Linked DNA regions of Homo sapiens: region 2 is linked to region 1. Evidence: promoter capture Hi-C in human tissues and cell types (Jung and others, 2019). All regions are on one chromosome and are shown on one strand. The core of a region is centred on a gene start or on the middle of the fragment in contact, and the rest is flanking DNA. Distances in the headings are between cores, read along the strand shown.

The links. Contacts are between HindIII fragments. The study calls those that stand out against the background at their distance.
Region 2: a contact is called between a fragment that was not itself captured here and the fragment with the promoter of ZNF519 in region 1, in 2 of the 25 tissues and cell types used here (ovary and stomach).

What each region holds. Positions count from the first base shown.
Region 1 is chr18:14,129,773-14,137,166 of GRCh38, forward strand. ZNF519 (zinc finger protein 519) reads right to left here and starts at 2,663. Exons shown (of 3, transcript NM_145287.4): 1 at 2,503-2,663. The coding sequence starts at 2,505. RefSeq lists enhancers at 1,850-2,371, 2,274-2,613 and a silencer at 2,864-2,923. The HindIII fragment of the contact is 15,609 bases long and covers 1-7,394 here.
Region 2 is chr18:14,162,863-14,170,256 of GRCh38, forward strand. No RefSeq gene overlaps it. Among named protein-coding and RNA genes, the nearest start is that of ZNF519, 34 kb to the left of the region's middle. The HindIII fragment of the contact is 8,377 bases long and covers 430-7,394 here.

The DNA.
Region 1 (7,394 bases), core at 1,413-3,912:
GATACCCATCTTTATTTCTCAACTACTTCCTACAAATCAAGGGCTTCCACATTCCCCTCCTCAAGCTCAATAATTTGATAGAACTATTCACAGAACTCAGCAAAGCACTGTACTTACATATACCAGTTTATTATTGAAGATACAGCTCAGGAACAGCCACATGGAAGAGATGCATAGGGCAAGAAAAAGTGGTGGTGAAAGCTGGGGCAGGTAGGTAATTCTGCTAAATAGCTGTGACAAAAAATTCCTCATGCTTTTTGTTCTCCGAAATCAGCTTAACGAAAAGAGACACCCTTCCCATTGTGACTTCAATAATACTCTCTCTTCTTTTTTTCTAAACCTATCACAGAGTCAGACATGGACCACACATTTCCATTTTTTTCTCATATACAATTGGCTGAACAATTTCATCTCCGATGGTCAAAAAAAAAAAAAAGCCTATTTGTTCAGATCCCTGAACTTTGACCTATTCTCAGCCTGATTCAACATTCAATCTCTCTTTATTAACCTCCTAAGAAAAAGCTGACTTCAGGGTTGAACGCTCTCTGATTTAGAATCTGATTTTGCCACACTTCATTCTGCCCACCCTCTCTCACCTTCCTTCTAATCTTATTTGCTCTTTCCAACTTTTTTTAAAAGCCCTTTTCTGCCTATCCTTTGAGATCCAATTTACAGTTAATTAAAAAAACCGAAGTTGAAATAAGTGAGCAAATCTATACAGGGGGACAAACTCAGGGAGTGGCAGTGCTTTCTGGAACAGGGACATATGACTCAAGTGTCAAATCAGGCCACCTTATCCCTTGGGACTTTCTATCACCCCCATACTCCTCACTGAAGTGCTCAATGCCCACCCTCCCAGGAGACACTGCACTGTGCCCCACTGTGCTTTTTGCTTTGCAGGTTCTTGCACTGCCTCCCTGGGGTGGGTTTTTCTTGTCCTTCAGGTTAGTTTCTCTCCCTTCGCAAATATAAGACAATTCAGAAGACAGGAATAGTCTATCTTTTTCTCTGAATACCAGCATCTGATTGGCTGACAAGCAATGTGTTTCCATGGAATGAAAACTGGGGTTGGGGGAAAAAAAAAAAAAATCTTAAAAATCCCAAGGGATTCTTTTTTTACAGGAAGGGTAAGCCTGGATATTTCTCTCACCCCCAGGGCATTCAGCTGCTCCTTTGAGAAGCTGCACTCCCATCCCTCAGTGTGTCCTCTGGAAGATTACCAAAGGGCTGCTATTCACCAGAACTCCCAAAATACATGGCTCTGGTTTGTATCTTGGGCCATCTCAAGACAGTTCTAAAACTCAGGACTAGAAAAAGGCCCGAATGTGGCTAAGGAAACATTGCCCCATAAAGTTTCCCAACGAAAACCTCAATCCCAAGATGGCCTAATAAGGGCGTTTGTGCTAAGGGAGGATACAAGGAGAAACAGCAGAAAGATTTTTTACAGTTGAGTGCCAGGGGATTATTTTCTGCTTTTTTCTCATGTGAAATATTTGTAAGTAGAAAATAAGTATTTTACAAATTGCCATCCACTGCTCTGTGAAAAAGTGATTAATTCAAATACTGTTTCTGAAATGTGCAATAAAGGACAAAAACAGTTGATAATGTATGGGAGCGTAGAAGTTGGCTTTGGGGAATGTCAGCAAGAAACCGGAAATTTAAGATTTTACTTCAAGCCAGGTTAGGCTGGCAGAACAGAGTAGTGGATGTGAGACCCTGCTTGCCACACATTTGGAAAATGCAGGCGAAAACCAGTGTCTTTGATTAAAGTTAAAATAATTACATAGCAGTCATTTAGACTGAAGTGGCTCTAGTGGTCTAGGCCTCTATGTAAAAAAAGAAATCTAACTCAAATGCATTTTTTTCTAAGTTACTACCTTAGGAGGAAACGAAATTCAAGCTTAAACAACTACAAACCTCCAATTAATCCCTGATTACATAACCAGGAAATTTCCACCCAGACACTCCAAATAAAGCGACTACATAACTGTACCCAATTATTTAATTGTCTTTGCTTCCTCACACACCTTATACAAGCCTTTCTTTCAAGACCTTCTAGTAGCCCCCCAACCACAAACCATTGCTGAGCGCTGTCCCATTAATTAATCACTGTTTACTCATATAAGCTGTCTATGTTTTAATGGCGCCTCAGTCTAATTCCGAACAGGGTAAGGTAGGGACGGGGGACCCCACGGACCACAGCTCCTTCCACGCAGGAACCCTGCACACCGAGTCGGCGTCTTTCCGATGACTTTCGCCTCATCACCTCACAACCTGGGGAAGATGCAGGGCTGCGGGCGCAGAGCTGCGCAAAGAGGGCTACAGGCTGGGGCCAAAGCCGCCGTGCAGGGACAGGACAGGACGCCCGGAGTCCCTGCACCGGAGGGGACTGAGGGCTGAGCTGCAGACTCGACTCGCAGACTAGGTCCCGTCACCGCCATGTCCAGCCGGTTCCAAGGAGCCCCCTCCCCAGTCTCGGTACGCCCTGCCCCCCACACTCACCATTTCTCGGCTTCAGGGGTGTCCTGGAGTCTTAGCTATAAATCATTCAATGCCAGCAGGTCACAGAGCGACGGAGTGAGTGGCAGAATCACCGAAGTCTCCCGGAGCAGAGGACACAAGGCAATGAAGCCCTAACCCCGCGCTCTGGCTGAAGTGAGACAAAGGCCGCGCCAGATTCCGGAAGCCGCCCCTTCCTCCCTGGCTGCGCGCCTGATTGGACAGTTCCCACCCCAGAGCCCTGATTGGATAGTAGTGCAGGCACCGCGACCTCAGGCCTTGCGTGTCAGAAGATGCTACCATACACTGCACGGAATGAGCCGAGAGTGACAGGCTCTTGGCTCCAGTCACTTTCAGGCAGGGCTTTCTGTCTGTGCTGCGCCTGGCTCTGCCCAGGGGTCATTTTTTTAGCATTGTGGTGTATAACGTTATGAAGGTTATGTTCGTTTATAAAACACACACACACGTTGTTCACAAATGGAAGCAATATAATGACAATTATTTAATATTTCAGATTTCATAACCTTTCTGGCCGCCGGTCTTTGGAGTGGGACACCTAAGATTTTAAGAGAGAAGCAATCCTCTAAAAAATAAAACGTTAGCTATTGTGAATTTTAAATGTCTTATTAGCCAGATCAAAAATAGTAATAAAAAGAGTCCTGACATGGTGGCTCACGCCTGTAATCCCAGCACTCTGAGAGGCCAGAGGTCAGAAGTTCGAGACCACTCTGGCCAACATAATGAAGCCCTGTCTACTAAAAATACAAAAATTAGCCGGGCATGGTGGCGGGCGCCTGTAATCCCAGCTGCTTGGGAGGCTGAGGCAGGAGAATCGCTTGAACCCAGGAGGTGGAGGTTGCAGTGAGCTGAGTTTGTGCCACTGCACTGCAGCCTGGGTGACAGAGCAAGACTCCATCTCAGAAATAATAGGAATAATAAAAAGAAACAAGTGAAATTGTTTGTAATACTCTTTAAGCCATTATACCCAAAATATTATTTTTCATGTGTGGTCAACAAATAATTATAAATATTTTGGATCTAAATCTTTTAAACTCGCTGTGTATTTTATGTTTGCAGCACATTTTACTTCAAACCAGCAGCCATGAGGGCTCTGATGCTCCGATCTCAGGGAGGTGAAGGCCTGAACACCTCTTTTTTTTTGTATTTCTAGGCTATTTATGATTTTTAACACAGACTAAATCAAATTACTGTGCCTGAAAAATCTTTTGCTTTGAAGGCAAGTGACATAAAGACAGAGCTGCTGATATTTTTTCCTGCTGCAATTTAGCCAATCAGCAGAATATGCTTTGAAGGGTAAAGATGTTTTCTAAGACCCCACATTCAGGAGCAGCTATGGGGCAAATCCCTAAAGCACACATAAAAATCACATACAGCCAATGTATTCCTCACCCTGAATCAATGCTTCTCACCCTTGGCTGCATATTTCAATAACCTTGTAGAGGAGTGTTTAAAGTCTTCAAACCCAAGTTGCAATGGGGTAATTAAGTCAATCTCTGGAGTGAGACCTAGGCAACAGTGTGATTTAAAGCTCTCGGGTGATTATAGCACACAGCTCAACTCCCATGTTACTGCTTTAAACCAACATCTTTTGGAGAGCCAGTTGAAATTATTTCTCAAATTAACATAGAAGTGTTTGCTGCTGAGTTGCGGCCTTTCAGTCTTGATTACTTACTTTCTATCCTTTGCAGAACTGACCTCTGCTACTTGTTTTGTTTCTGATTCACACCAGTTCCACACACACTGAGTGCACACTACGTACAGGGCCCTGTGCTAAGTGTCCTGGCCGTGGTGAGTACTATCGTGGAGGAAGGACTTTGCTGTAAAAAATTGCATTCCCCAAAACTACAACCATGCTACTTACTCAATTGAGGTAAAAATGAAAGATCGAGGGGGACCCCCAAGAGTCAGGATGTGAATAAATACCTTGGAATATTAATACCCATCTCATGATGTCTGACACTAAATGCCTCACTTTCAAACAAAACAATACCAAACATTGCTATTATTCTGTTAAGATTAAATATGTAATATTTAAATTTTATTGAATGACATGCATACAGAAATATATGTCCAAAGCATTAACATAATGCTCAGTAAATTATTACAAACAAATACATTTGTGTAGGCATAGGATAGAACTAGCCTTGTTTCTGCCACACAAACCACTTTCTCTTTTCCTCCCCTCCAAAAGTAACCACAATCTTAAGAGCTAATGTTGTAGATAAAGTTTGTCTTTTTATACAATTATTTTATTAGAGAATATTTTAAACATATATGCAATAAGCAATGTAGTATAATAGACTGATGCTCAGCCTAAACATCTACTAATTATGTGCCATTTCTGTTTAACTTCTACTTCAACTCATTCCCCATCCCCACTTTATTATTGTTTTTAGTTATTTTCTATGAGATAAGATGTATATACATTGAAACATACAATCTTTTCTGTACCTTTTTAACAAATAAATACACTCATATAACCTTTTCCCTTTTAATTATAGAATTACCCCCACTTAACAATTATTAATATGCATGTGAATCACCTGGGAATATTATTTAAAAACCTGATTTTGATACGATATACTTGGGTTTTGCCTGAAAATCTGTATTTCTAACAAAATAGAGATCCATAGAGCACATGGTAACTACAAGGTGTCTTTTATCTAAAGCGTATAAAATTTGATGAATAAAATTAAGAAAAATTGAGCTCAGGTAAAAGAATACATTAAAATGAATATGCAATATGCTATCTATAGGAGATTTGGTTACTAATGACTCACATTCATAGGTGGCCTTTACAGAATTACCCAAAATGAGTCATTTACACACCAAATGCACACAATTTTCATAGCTTCCCATTAAAATTATATTTAATGCCTTTACAAAATCTAACTCAGCTTTCTTACAAAATAAGTAACAACATTTTATATGACATTATAAGTTCCATCTATATTAAACCTAAACTTACATAATTTTATTAGGTAGGGTCTGTGTGTCTACCACCCAATATTCTTTTGGGTTCCACCATTTGCACAGGCACCACAGCTGAGGAGCACAGATTCACCACACACAAGATGTTCCCTGCATCTTTTTCTTTCTCAGGGTATCAGTTTATCAGTCAATCAAGTCATGTGAGAATGGAGGTCATGTATTTCCTGGCATAGAGTGTCTCATGGACCCTCTCTTCAGGGGAGAAAAATACTAGAAGGTTCTTTTAGGGGGCACTTCCTGGGACATGGGCTAAGCCATGTAAGGGATGAAGGCTCAGACCAGCAGGTATAGACTTCTCAGAAGGGAAAGATGAGGCAACCATTCTGAATCTGGACCTCTACCACTGCTTGTCCCATCTCATCAAGACAGTTCTGAGGGATTGTTCCTAATGTCTGGATGGTGGAGGTTGGGGAACAGTATGGGCTTTGATGGGACTCAGGTAAGATCCGTCATCGGAAGGCAGGAGGCCAGTGCTCAGCATCTGAATTTGTGTCCTTGTGGACAATGGGGTGCCTTTTTAGGTCCAAGTCCATTTTCACCAAAGAGGAGGCTGGAGACTCTGAATGGCTCCCAGATTCCATTTATGATACTTTTTGGGGTGGGGTCAGAATGGGTCTGAGTTTCAGTATCTTTGGGGAATTCTGAAAAGTCTGTTTGGGGAATCTGGAAAGACCTCTTGCCTGGTGCCCAAATGCTTGGTTTTCTGTCCTGGATTTATACATTCTTGGGAGCCAGAGAGCCAGTTTTGCATTCACACCAACACAACTGAGTCAGAAGTGGAAGCAGCCAAGACAGGTGTCTTGGTGACAGGTGTCTCATCTTTGCCTTAGTTCCTCCCATCAGTCTTGGTAAAGAGTCCTGGAGTCTGGAGCTGCTGGGGCTTTCCTGGTCCCAGGTTCTGCTTTTCCTTCTCATTTGGCCCAAAAGCTATGGGACTGTACCCTATCCTAGCACTTCACTGGGCATCTTCTGGTTCTGTCCATGTGCCCTAAGACTTGGTAGCTCTTTCGCTTTCTCTGTAGGTTGAAGAGAAGGGAGGTCAGTGAGTCCGAATCATCACAGGCAGCTTTCAAAGATTAATCTTAGGATGATTTTTTGAATTTAGGTATTGATTTCCTAGGACTGGACCCAGACAAGTGACATACTGGGTGTCTGAAAACTTATGATGCATTAGTAATATTCACAACCCATTTTAAACTGAGAAACAAAAAGAAAATACCAAAATGGTAAGGGTTACGATAATCCAGGTAAGTTTATCAGCTCAGATTGTGAATCCTGAGCAAATTCTACAGAACACAATGTGGCTCCCAGGATGAATGAGGGAGGGTGAGATAGAGCAGAAGTTTCCCTCTCCAGCTGGGCTTTCTGCTGCCTTAGGAATTGGAAGTTGATTGAGTTAGCACTGGCTCCAATCTGATCAATTCAACGTGATCATATCTGATCTAATTATCCTTCCAACATTCAAGGGATAAAGGAATATTCTATTTGGGGTTTACTTTTCTGCAGCCCTGTATATCTTAATGGCACACGCAGCCCAACTAGGCCTTCAAGATGCCACATCCCCTATCATAGAATTTTATTTTATCATATATATATATATTTAATACAATCAAGTATAATTTAATATTTGTCATTTCCAAGCATTTGAAAAATTATGGCCTATATATATACACACACAATTGTAATACTATAATGATTTTCTTCATGTGCAAAATATATATACAACTGTTAATATATGGTCTGTTTAATTTTGCATTTTGAATCTGGGCAGAGTTTTGAGTACTCCTGGGTGGGAACTGGGCCGGGAAACAAAAGGTGATGAGCCTCCTGCATTCTAGTCCCGGTGCCTCCTGGTTTTGTTATATCTTGTTTTTTGATGCTAT
Region 2 (7,394 bases), core at 3,368-5,867, 35 kb after region 1:
GAAGTGCAAGGGGTCAGGGAATTCCCTTTCATAGCCAAGCAAAGCTGTGACAGAAGGCACCTAGAAAATTGGGTCACTCTCACCCTAATACTGCGCTTTTCCAATGGTCTTAGCAAATGGCACAATTATATCCCGTGCCTGGCTTGGAGGGTCCCATGCCCATGGAGCCTTACTCATTGCTAGCACAGCAGTCTGAGATCGAACTGCAAGGTGGCAGTGAGGCTGGGGGAGGGGTGCCCGCATTTGCTGAGGCTTGAGTAGGTAAACAAAGCGGCCGGGAAGCTCGAGCTGGATGGAGCCCACCGCAGCTCCAGGAGGGCTGCCTGCCTCTGTAGACTCCACCTCTGGGGGCAGGACCTAGCTGAACAAAAGGCAGAAGAAACCTCTGCAGACTTAAATGTCCCTGTCTGACAGCTTTGAAGAGAGTAGTGGTTCTCCCAGCACAGAGTTTGAGATCTGAGAATGGACAGACTGTCTCCTCAAGTGGGTCCCTGAACCCCGAGTAGCCTAACTGGGAGGCACCCCTGAGTAGGGGCAGACTGACACCTCACATGGCCGGGTACCCCTCTGAGATGAAACTTCCAGAGGAACGATCAGGCAGCAACATTTGCTGTTCAGCAATATTCGCTGTTCTGCAGCCTCTGCTTCTGATACCCAGGCAAACAGGGTCTGGAGTGGACCTCCAGCAAACTCCAACAGACCTGCAGCTGAGGGTCCTGACTGTTAGAAGGAAAACTGACAAACAGAAAGGACATCCACACCAAAACCCCGTCTGTACATCACCATGATCAAAGACCAAAGGCAGATAAAACCACAAAGATGGGGAGAAACCAGAGCAGAAAAGCTGAAAATTCTGAAAATCAGAGTGCCTCTTCTCCTCCAAAGGAACACAGCTCCTCACCAGCAACAGAACAAAGCTGGACAGAGAATGACTTTGATGAGTTGAGAGAAGAAGGCTTCAGACGATCAGTAATAACAAACTTCTCCGAGCTAAAGGAGGATGTTCGAACCCATCGCAAAGAAGCTAAAAACCTCGATAAAAGATTAGACGAATTTCTAACTGAATAACCAGTGTAGAGAAGTCCTTAACTGACCTGATGGAGCTGAAAACCATGGCACAAGAACTATGTGACACATGCACAAGCTTCGGTAGCTGATTTGATCAAGTGGAAGAAAGGGTATCAGTGATTGAAGACCAAATGAATGAAATGAAGTGAGAAGAGAAGCTTAGAGAAAAAAGAGTAAAAAGAAATGAACAAAGCCTCCAAGAAATGTGGGACTATGTGAAAAGACCAAAACTATGTCTGATTGGTGTACCTGAAAGTGACGGGGAGAATGGAACCAAGTTGGAAAACACTCTGCAGGATATTATCCAGGAGAACTTCCCCAACTTAGCGAGGCAAGTTAACATTCAAATTGAGGAAATACAGAGAATGCCACAAAGATACTCAAGAAGAGCAACTCCAAGACATGTAATTGTCAGATTCACCAAAGCTGAAATGAAGGAAAAAAATGTTAAGGGCAGCTAGAGAGAAAGGTCGGGTTACTCACAAAGGGAAGCCCATCAGACTAACAGCAGATCTCTCAGCAGAAACTCTACAAGCCAGAAGAGACTGGGGGCCAATATTCAACATTCTTAAAGAAAAGAATTTGCAACCCAGAATTTCATATCCAGCCAAACTAAGCTTCATAAGTGAAGGAGAAATAAAATACTTTACAGACAAGCAAATGCTGAGAGATTTTTATCACCACCAGACCTGCCCTACAAGAGTTCCTGAAGGAAGCACTAAATATGGAAAGGAACAACCACCGGTAGCAGCCACTGCAAAAACATCCCAAATTGTAAAGACCATCGAGGCTAGGAAGAAACTGCATCAACTAACGAGCAAAATAAGCAGCTAACATCATAATGACAGGATCAAATTCACACATAACAATATTAACCTTAAATGTAAATGGGATAAATGCTCCAATTAAAGGACACAGACTGGAAATTGGATAAAGAGTCAAGACCCATCAGTGCACTGTATTCAGGAGACCCATCTCATGTGCAGAGACACACATGGGCTCAAAATAAAGGGATGGAGAAAGATCTACCAAGCAAATGGAAAACAAAAAAATGCAGGGGTTGCAATCCTAGTCTCTGATAAAACAGACTTTAAACCAACAAAGGTCAGAAGAGACAAAGAAGGCCATTACATAATGGTAAAGGGATCAATTCAACAAGAAGAGCTAACTATCCTAAATATATATGCACCCAATACAGGAGCACCCAGATTCATAAAGCAAGTCCTTAGAGACCTACAAAGAGACTCAGACTCCCACATAATAATAATGGGAGACTTTAACACCCCACTGTCAACATTAGACAGATCCACGAGACAGAAAGTTAACAAGGATATCCAGGAATTGAACTCAGCTCTGCACCAAGTGGACCTAATAGACATCTACAGAACTCTCCACCCCAAATCAACAGAATATACATTTTTTTCAGCACCACACCACACCTATTCCAAAATTGACCACATAGTTGGAAGTAAAGCACTCCTCAGCAAATGTAAAAGAACAGAAATTATAACAAACTATCTCTCAGACCACAGTGCAATCAAACTAGAACTCAGGATTAAGAAACTCACTCAAAACCACTCAACTACATGGAAACTGAACAACCTGCTCCTGAATGACTACTGGGTACATAAGGAAATGAATGCAGAAATAAAGATGTTCTTTGAAACCAATGAGAACAAAGACACAACATACCAGAATCTGTGGGACACATTTAAAGCAGTGTGTAGAGGGAAATTTATAGCACTAAATGCCCACAACAGAAAGCAGGAAAGATCTAAAACTGACACCCTAACATCACAATTAAAAGAACTAGAGAAGCAAGAGCAAACACATTCAAAAGCTAGCAGAAGGCAAGAAATAACTAAGATCAGAGCAGAACTGAAGGAGACAGAGACACAAAAAACCCTTCAAAAAATCAATGAATCCAGGAGATGTTTTTGGAAAAGATCAACAAAATTGATAGACCGCTAGCAAGACTAATAAAGAAGAGAGAAGAATCAAATAGATGCAATAAAAAATGATAAAGGGGATATCACCACCGATCCCACAGAAATACAAACTATCATCAGAGAATAGTATAAACACCTCTATGCAAATAAACTAGAAAATCTCGAAGAAATGGATAAATTCCTGGACACAGAACACCCTGCCAAGACAAAACCAGGAAGAAGTTGAATCCCTGAATAGACCATAATAGGTTCTGAAATTGAGGCAATAATTAATAGCCTACCAACCAAAAAGAGTCTAGGACCAGATGGATTCACAGCCGAATTCTACCAGAGGTACAAAGAGGAGCTGGTACCATTCCTTCTGAAACTATTCCAATCAATAGAAAAAGAGGGAATCCTCCCTAATTCATTTTATGAGGCCAACATCATCCTGATACCAAAGCCTGGCACAGACACAACAAAAAGAGAATTTTAGACCAATATCCCTGATGAACATCAATGCAAAAATCCTCAATAAAATCCTGGCAAACCAAATCCAGCAGCATATCAAAAAGCTTATCCACCACGATCAAGTTGGCTTTGTCCCTGGGATGCAAGGCTTGTTCAACATACACAAATCAATAAATGTAATCCAGCATATAAACAGAACAAATGACAAAAACCACATGATCATCTCAATAGATGCAGAAAAGGCCTTCGACAAAATTCAACAACACTTCATGCTAAAAACTCTCAATAAACTAAGTATTGATGGGATGTATCTCAAAATAATAAGAGCTATTTATGACAAACCCACAACTAATATCATACTGAATGGGCAAAAACTGGAAGCATTCCCTTTGAAAACTGGCACAAGACAGGGATGCCCTCTCTCACCACTCCTATTCAACATAGTGTTGGAAGTTCTGGCCAGGGCAGTCAGGCAAGAGAAAGAAATAAATGGTATTCAACTAGGGAAAGAGGAAGTCAAATTGTCCCTGTTTGCAGATGACATGATTGTATATTTAGAAAATCCCATCATCTCAGTCCAAAATCTCCTTAAGCTGATAAGCAACTTCAGCAAAATCTCAGGATACAACATCAATGTGCAAAAATCACAAGCATTCCTATACACCAATAACAGACAAACAGAGAGCCAAATCTTGAGTGAACTCCCATTCACAATTGCTTCAAAGAAAATAAAATACCTAGGAATCCAGCTTACAAGGGATGTGAAGGACCTCTTCAAGGAGAACTACAAACCACTGCTCAATGAAATAAAAGAGGATACAAACAAATGGAAGAACATTCCATGCTCATGGATAGGAAGAATCAATATTGTGAAAATGGCCATACTGCCCAAGGTAATTTACAGATTCAATGCTATCCCCATCAAGCTACCAATGACTTTCTTCACAGAATTGGAAAAAACTACTTTAAAGATCATATAGAACCACAAAAGAGCCCGCATTGCCAAGACTATCCTAAGCCAAAAGAACAAAGCTGGAGGCATCACACTACCTGACTTCAGACTATACTACAACTCTGCAGTAACCAAAACAGCATGGTACTGGTACCAAAACAGAGATACAGACCAATGGAACAGAATAGAGTCCTAGGAAATAATACCACACATCTACAACCATCTGATCTTTGACAAACCTGACAAAAACAAGAAATGAGGAAAGGATTCCCTATTTAATAAATGGTGCTGGGAAACCTACCTAGCCATATGTAGAAAGCTGATACTGGATCCCTTCCTTACACCTTATATAAAAATTAATTCAAGATGGATTAAAGACTTAAATGTTAGGCCTAAAGCCATAAAAACCCTAGAAGAAAACCTAGGCAATACTATTCAGGACGTAGGCATGGGCAAGGACTTCATGACTAGAACACCAAAAGCAATGGCGACAAAAGCCAAAATTGACAAATGGGATCTAATCAAACTAAAGAGCTTCTGCACAGCAAAAGAAACTACCATCAGAGTGAACAGGCAACCTACAGGGTGGGAGAGAATTTTTACAATCTACCCATCTGACAAAGGGCTAATATCCAGAATTTACAAAGAACTGAAACAAATTTACAAGAAAAAATCAAACAACGCCATCAAAAAGTGGGCAAAGGATATGAACAGTCACATTTATGCCGGCAAAAGACACATGAAAAAATGCTCATCATCACTGGCCATCAGAGAAATGCAAATCAAAACCACAAGGAGATTAAATATGAATTATTAGCTTTAAGGTATAATTAACATATAATGAGCATCAGCAATTTGAAGTGTACAACTTAACGAACTTTCAGAATAGTCATGTAACCACAACCATGATCATGACATAGAACATTTCAAACATCACCACAATCAGTCCCCTACATTTCCTTTGCAATAAATTTCCTCCCTTAACTCCTACTCCTGGCATCCACTGATCTGCTTTCTGTCCTGAATTTTGTCTTCTCTAGAAATTTTAAAAGAAATCACATAGTATGTCATCTCTCTTTCACTTAGCATAATATTTTTGAGATTCACGAATATTGCCGAGTCAGTAGTTAGTTCCTTTTTATTGCTGAATAGTATTCCATTCTTTCAAAGTATCACTGTTGGTTTATTCATTCACAAGTTAATGGACATTTGGGGCTGTTTACAAATTTAGGTTATTATAAATAATATGTACACTCGAGTATGCATCCTTGAGTGAAGGTATATGCCTTTGTGTGATTTTTTATTTTCATATTATAGGTACACAACATAATTTTCATTTTCTTCACAATTGTAACTTGCCTTCAAGATCTGTATATATTGATTAATATTCACAGATATAAATGTTAAAATCTATACACACGTATTCTTGTTCCTAATCTTATGTTATCATTCTATGCTTGAAAATTTATAACATATTTTTAATGCTAGTATCTACTGTTTGATTCCTTTCTGAATGACTTTTTTTCAGGTTTATTGAGGTATGATTGAAAAATAAAAATTGTATATATTTAAGGTGTACAAAACATGATGTTCTGATAAACTTATACATTCTAAAATGAGTACCACAATCAAGGTAATTAACATATCCATTACGTCATACAGTTTACCTCTGAAAGAGAAGGTAAGAATACTTGAGATAAGATACTTTCTTACCTTATTAGTGGGGCAAAAAGTTGTAAAGATTGCAAAACAGCTAATCCTGATAAAAATGCAGGAAAATAGGCATTTCAGTGGGGATGAAGCTGTGACCTGCTGCAACTACTGGGGAACATAAATCTAGTAATAACTATTACAAATTTTAAATGCAAATGTTCGTGACACAGAAACCCCAGATTTGGGATTCTAGTCTATAGAATTAAGAGCATCAGTTAAGAAGAATGTATGAACAAGATATTTATTAAGACTTAGCTATGGTGTCAAAAAACTGAAAACATCTGAATATCCACCCATTCAGTGAAATGGTCGAGTAAATGAGGCTCATTAGTGTAACAGAATGTTACCTAATATTGAAAGGTATGTGTTAGATCTCTATCAACTATTTTAAGGAACAGCTAAAATATTTTCTTAAATAAAGCAAGATGCAAAGTAATGAGCATAAAATAATTTCATTTTAAAATACAACCACCACCATCCTATGTATGTATGTGTATTTTGCATTTGAATGTACGAGTAAGTAAATGTGAGTGGAAGGATACACATCAGCCAATAGCACTAATTAGCTCAGAGGGAATGTGAGTAGAAAAGGGTGAGAATACTATTTTATTTTATTATTTTATTTTTTGTTTTTTGAGATGGACTCTCGCTCTGTCGCCCAGGCTGGAGTGCAGTGGCATGATCTCAGCTCACTGCAACCTCTACCTCCCAGGTTCAAGCAATTCTCCCTGCCTCAGCCTCCTGAGTAGCTGGGATCACAGGCGCCTGCCACTACATCCAGTTAATTTTTTTTTTGTAATACACTTTTAAAAATACATTTTTTTAGCCAGGCGCGGTGGCTCACACTTGTAATCCCAGCACTTTCAGAGGCTGAGGCAGGTGGATTACCTGAGGGTGGGAGTTTGAGACCAGCTTGACCAACATGGAGAAATCCCATCTCTACTATAAATACAAAATTAGCCGGGCATGGTGGCACATGCCTGTAATCCCAGCTACTTGGGAGGTTGAGGCAGGAGAATTGCTTGAACCCAGGAGGCAGTGGTTGCAGTCAGCCAAGATTGTGCCATTGCACTCCAACCTGGGCAACAAGAGCGAAACTCCATCTCAAAAAAAAAAAAAAAATTAAATCCAGAAAGATTTAAAAATCTAAACTTTAAAATCTAGAAAATATCAGAGAAAAATTAAAAAGTACACTTCAAAAATCTTGGCATATGCCAGACAAAAAGGTCACATGCTGAATGATTCCATTTATATCAAATGTC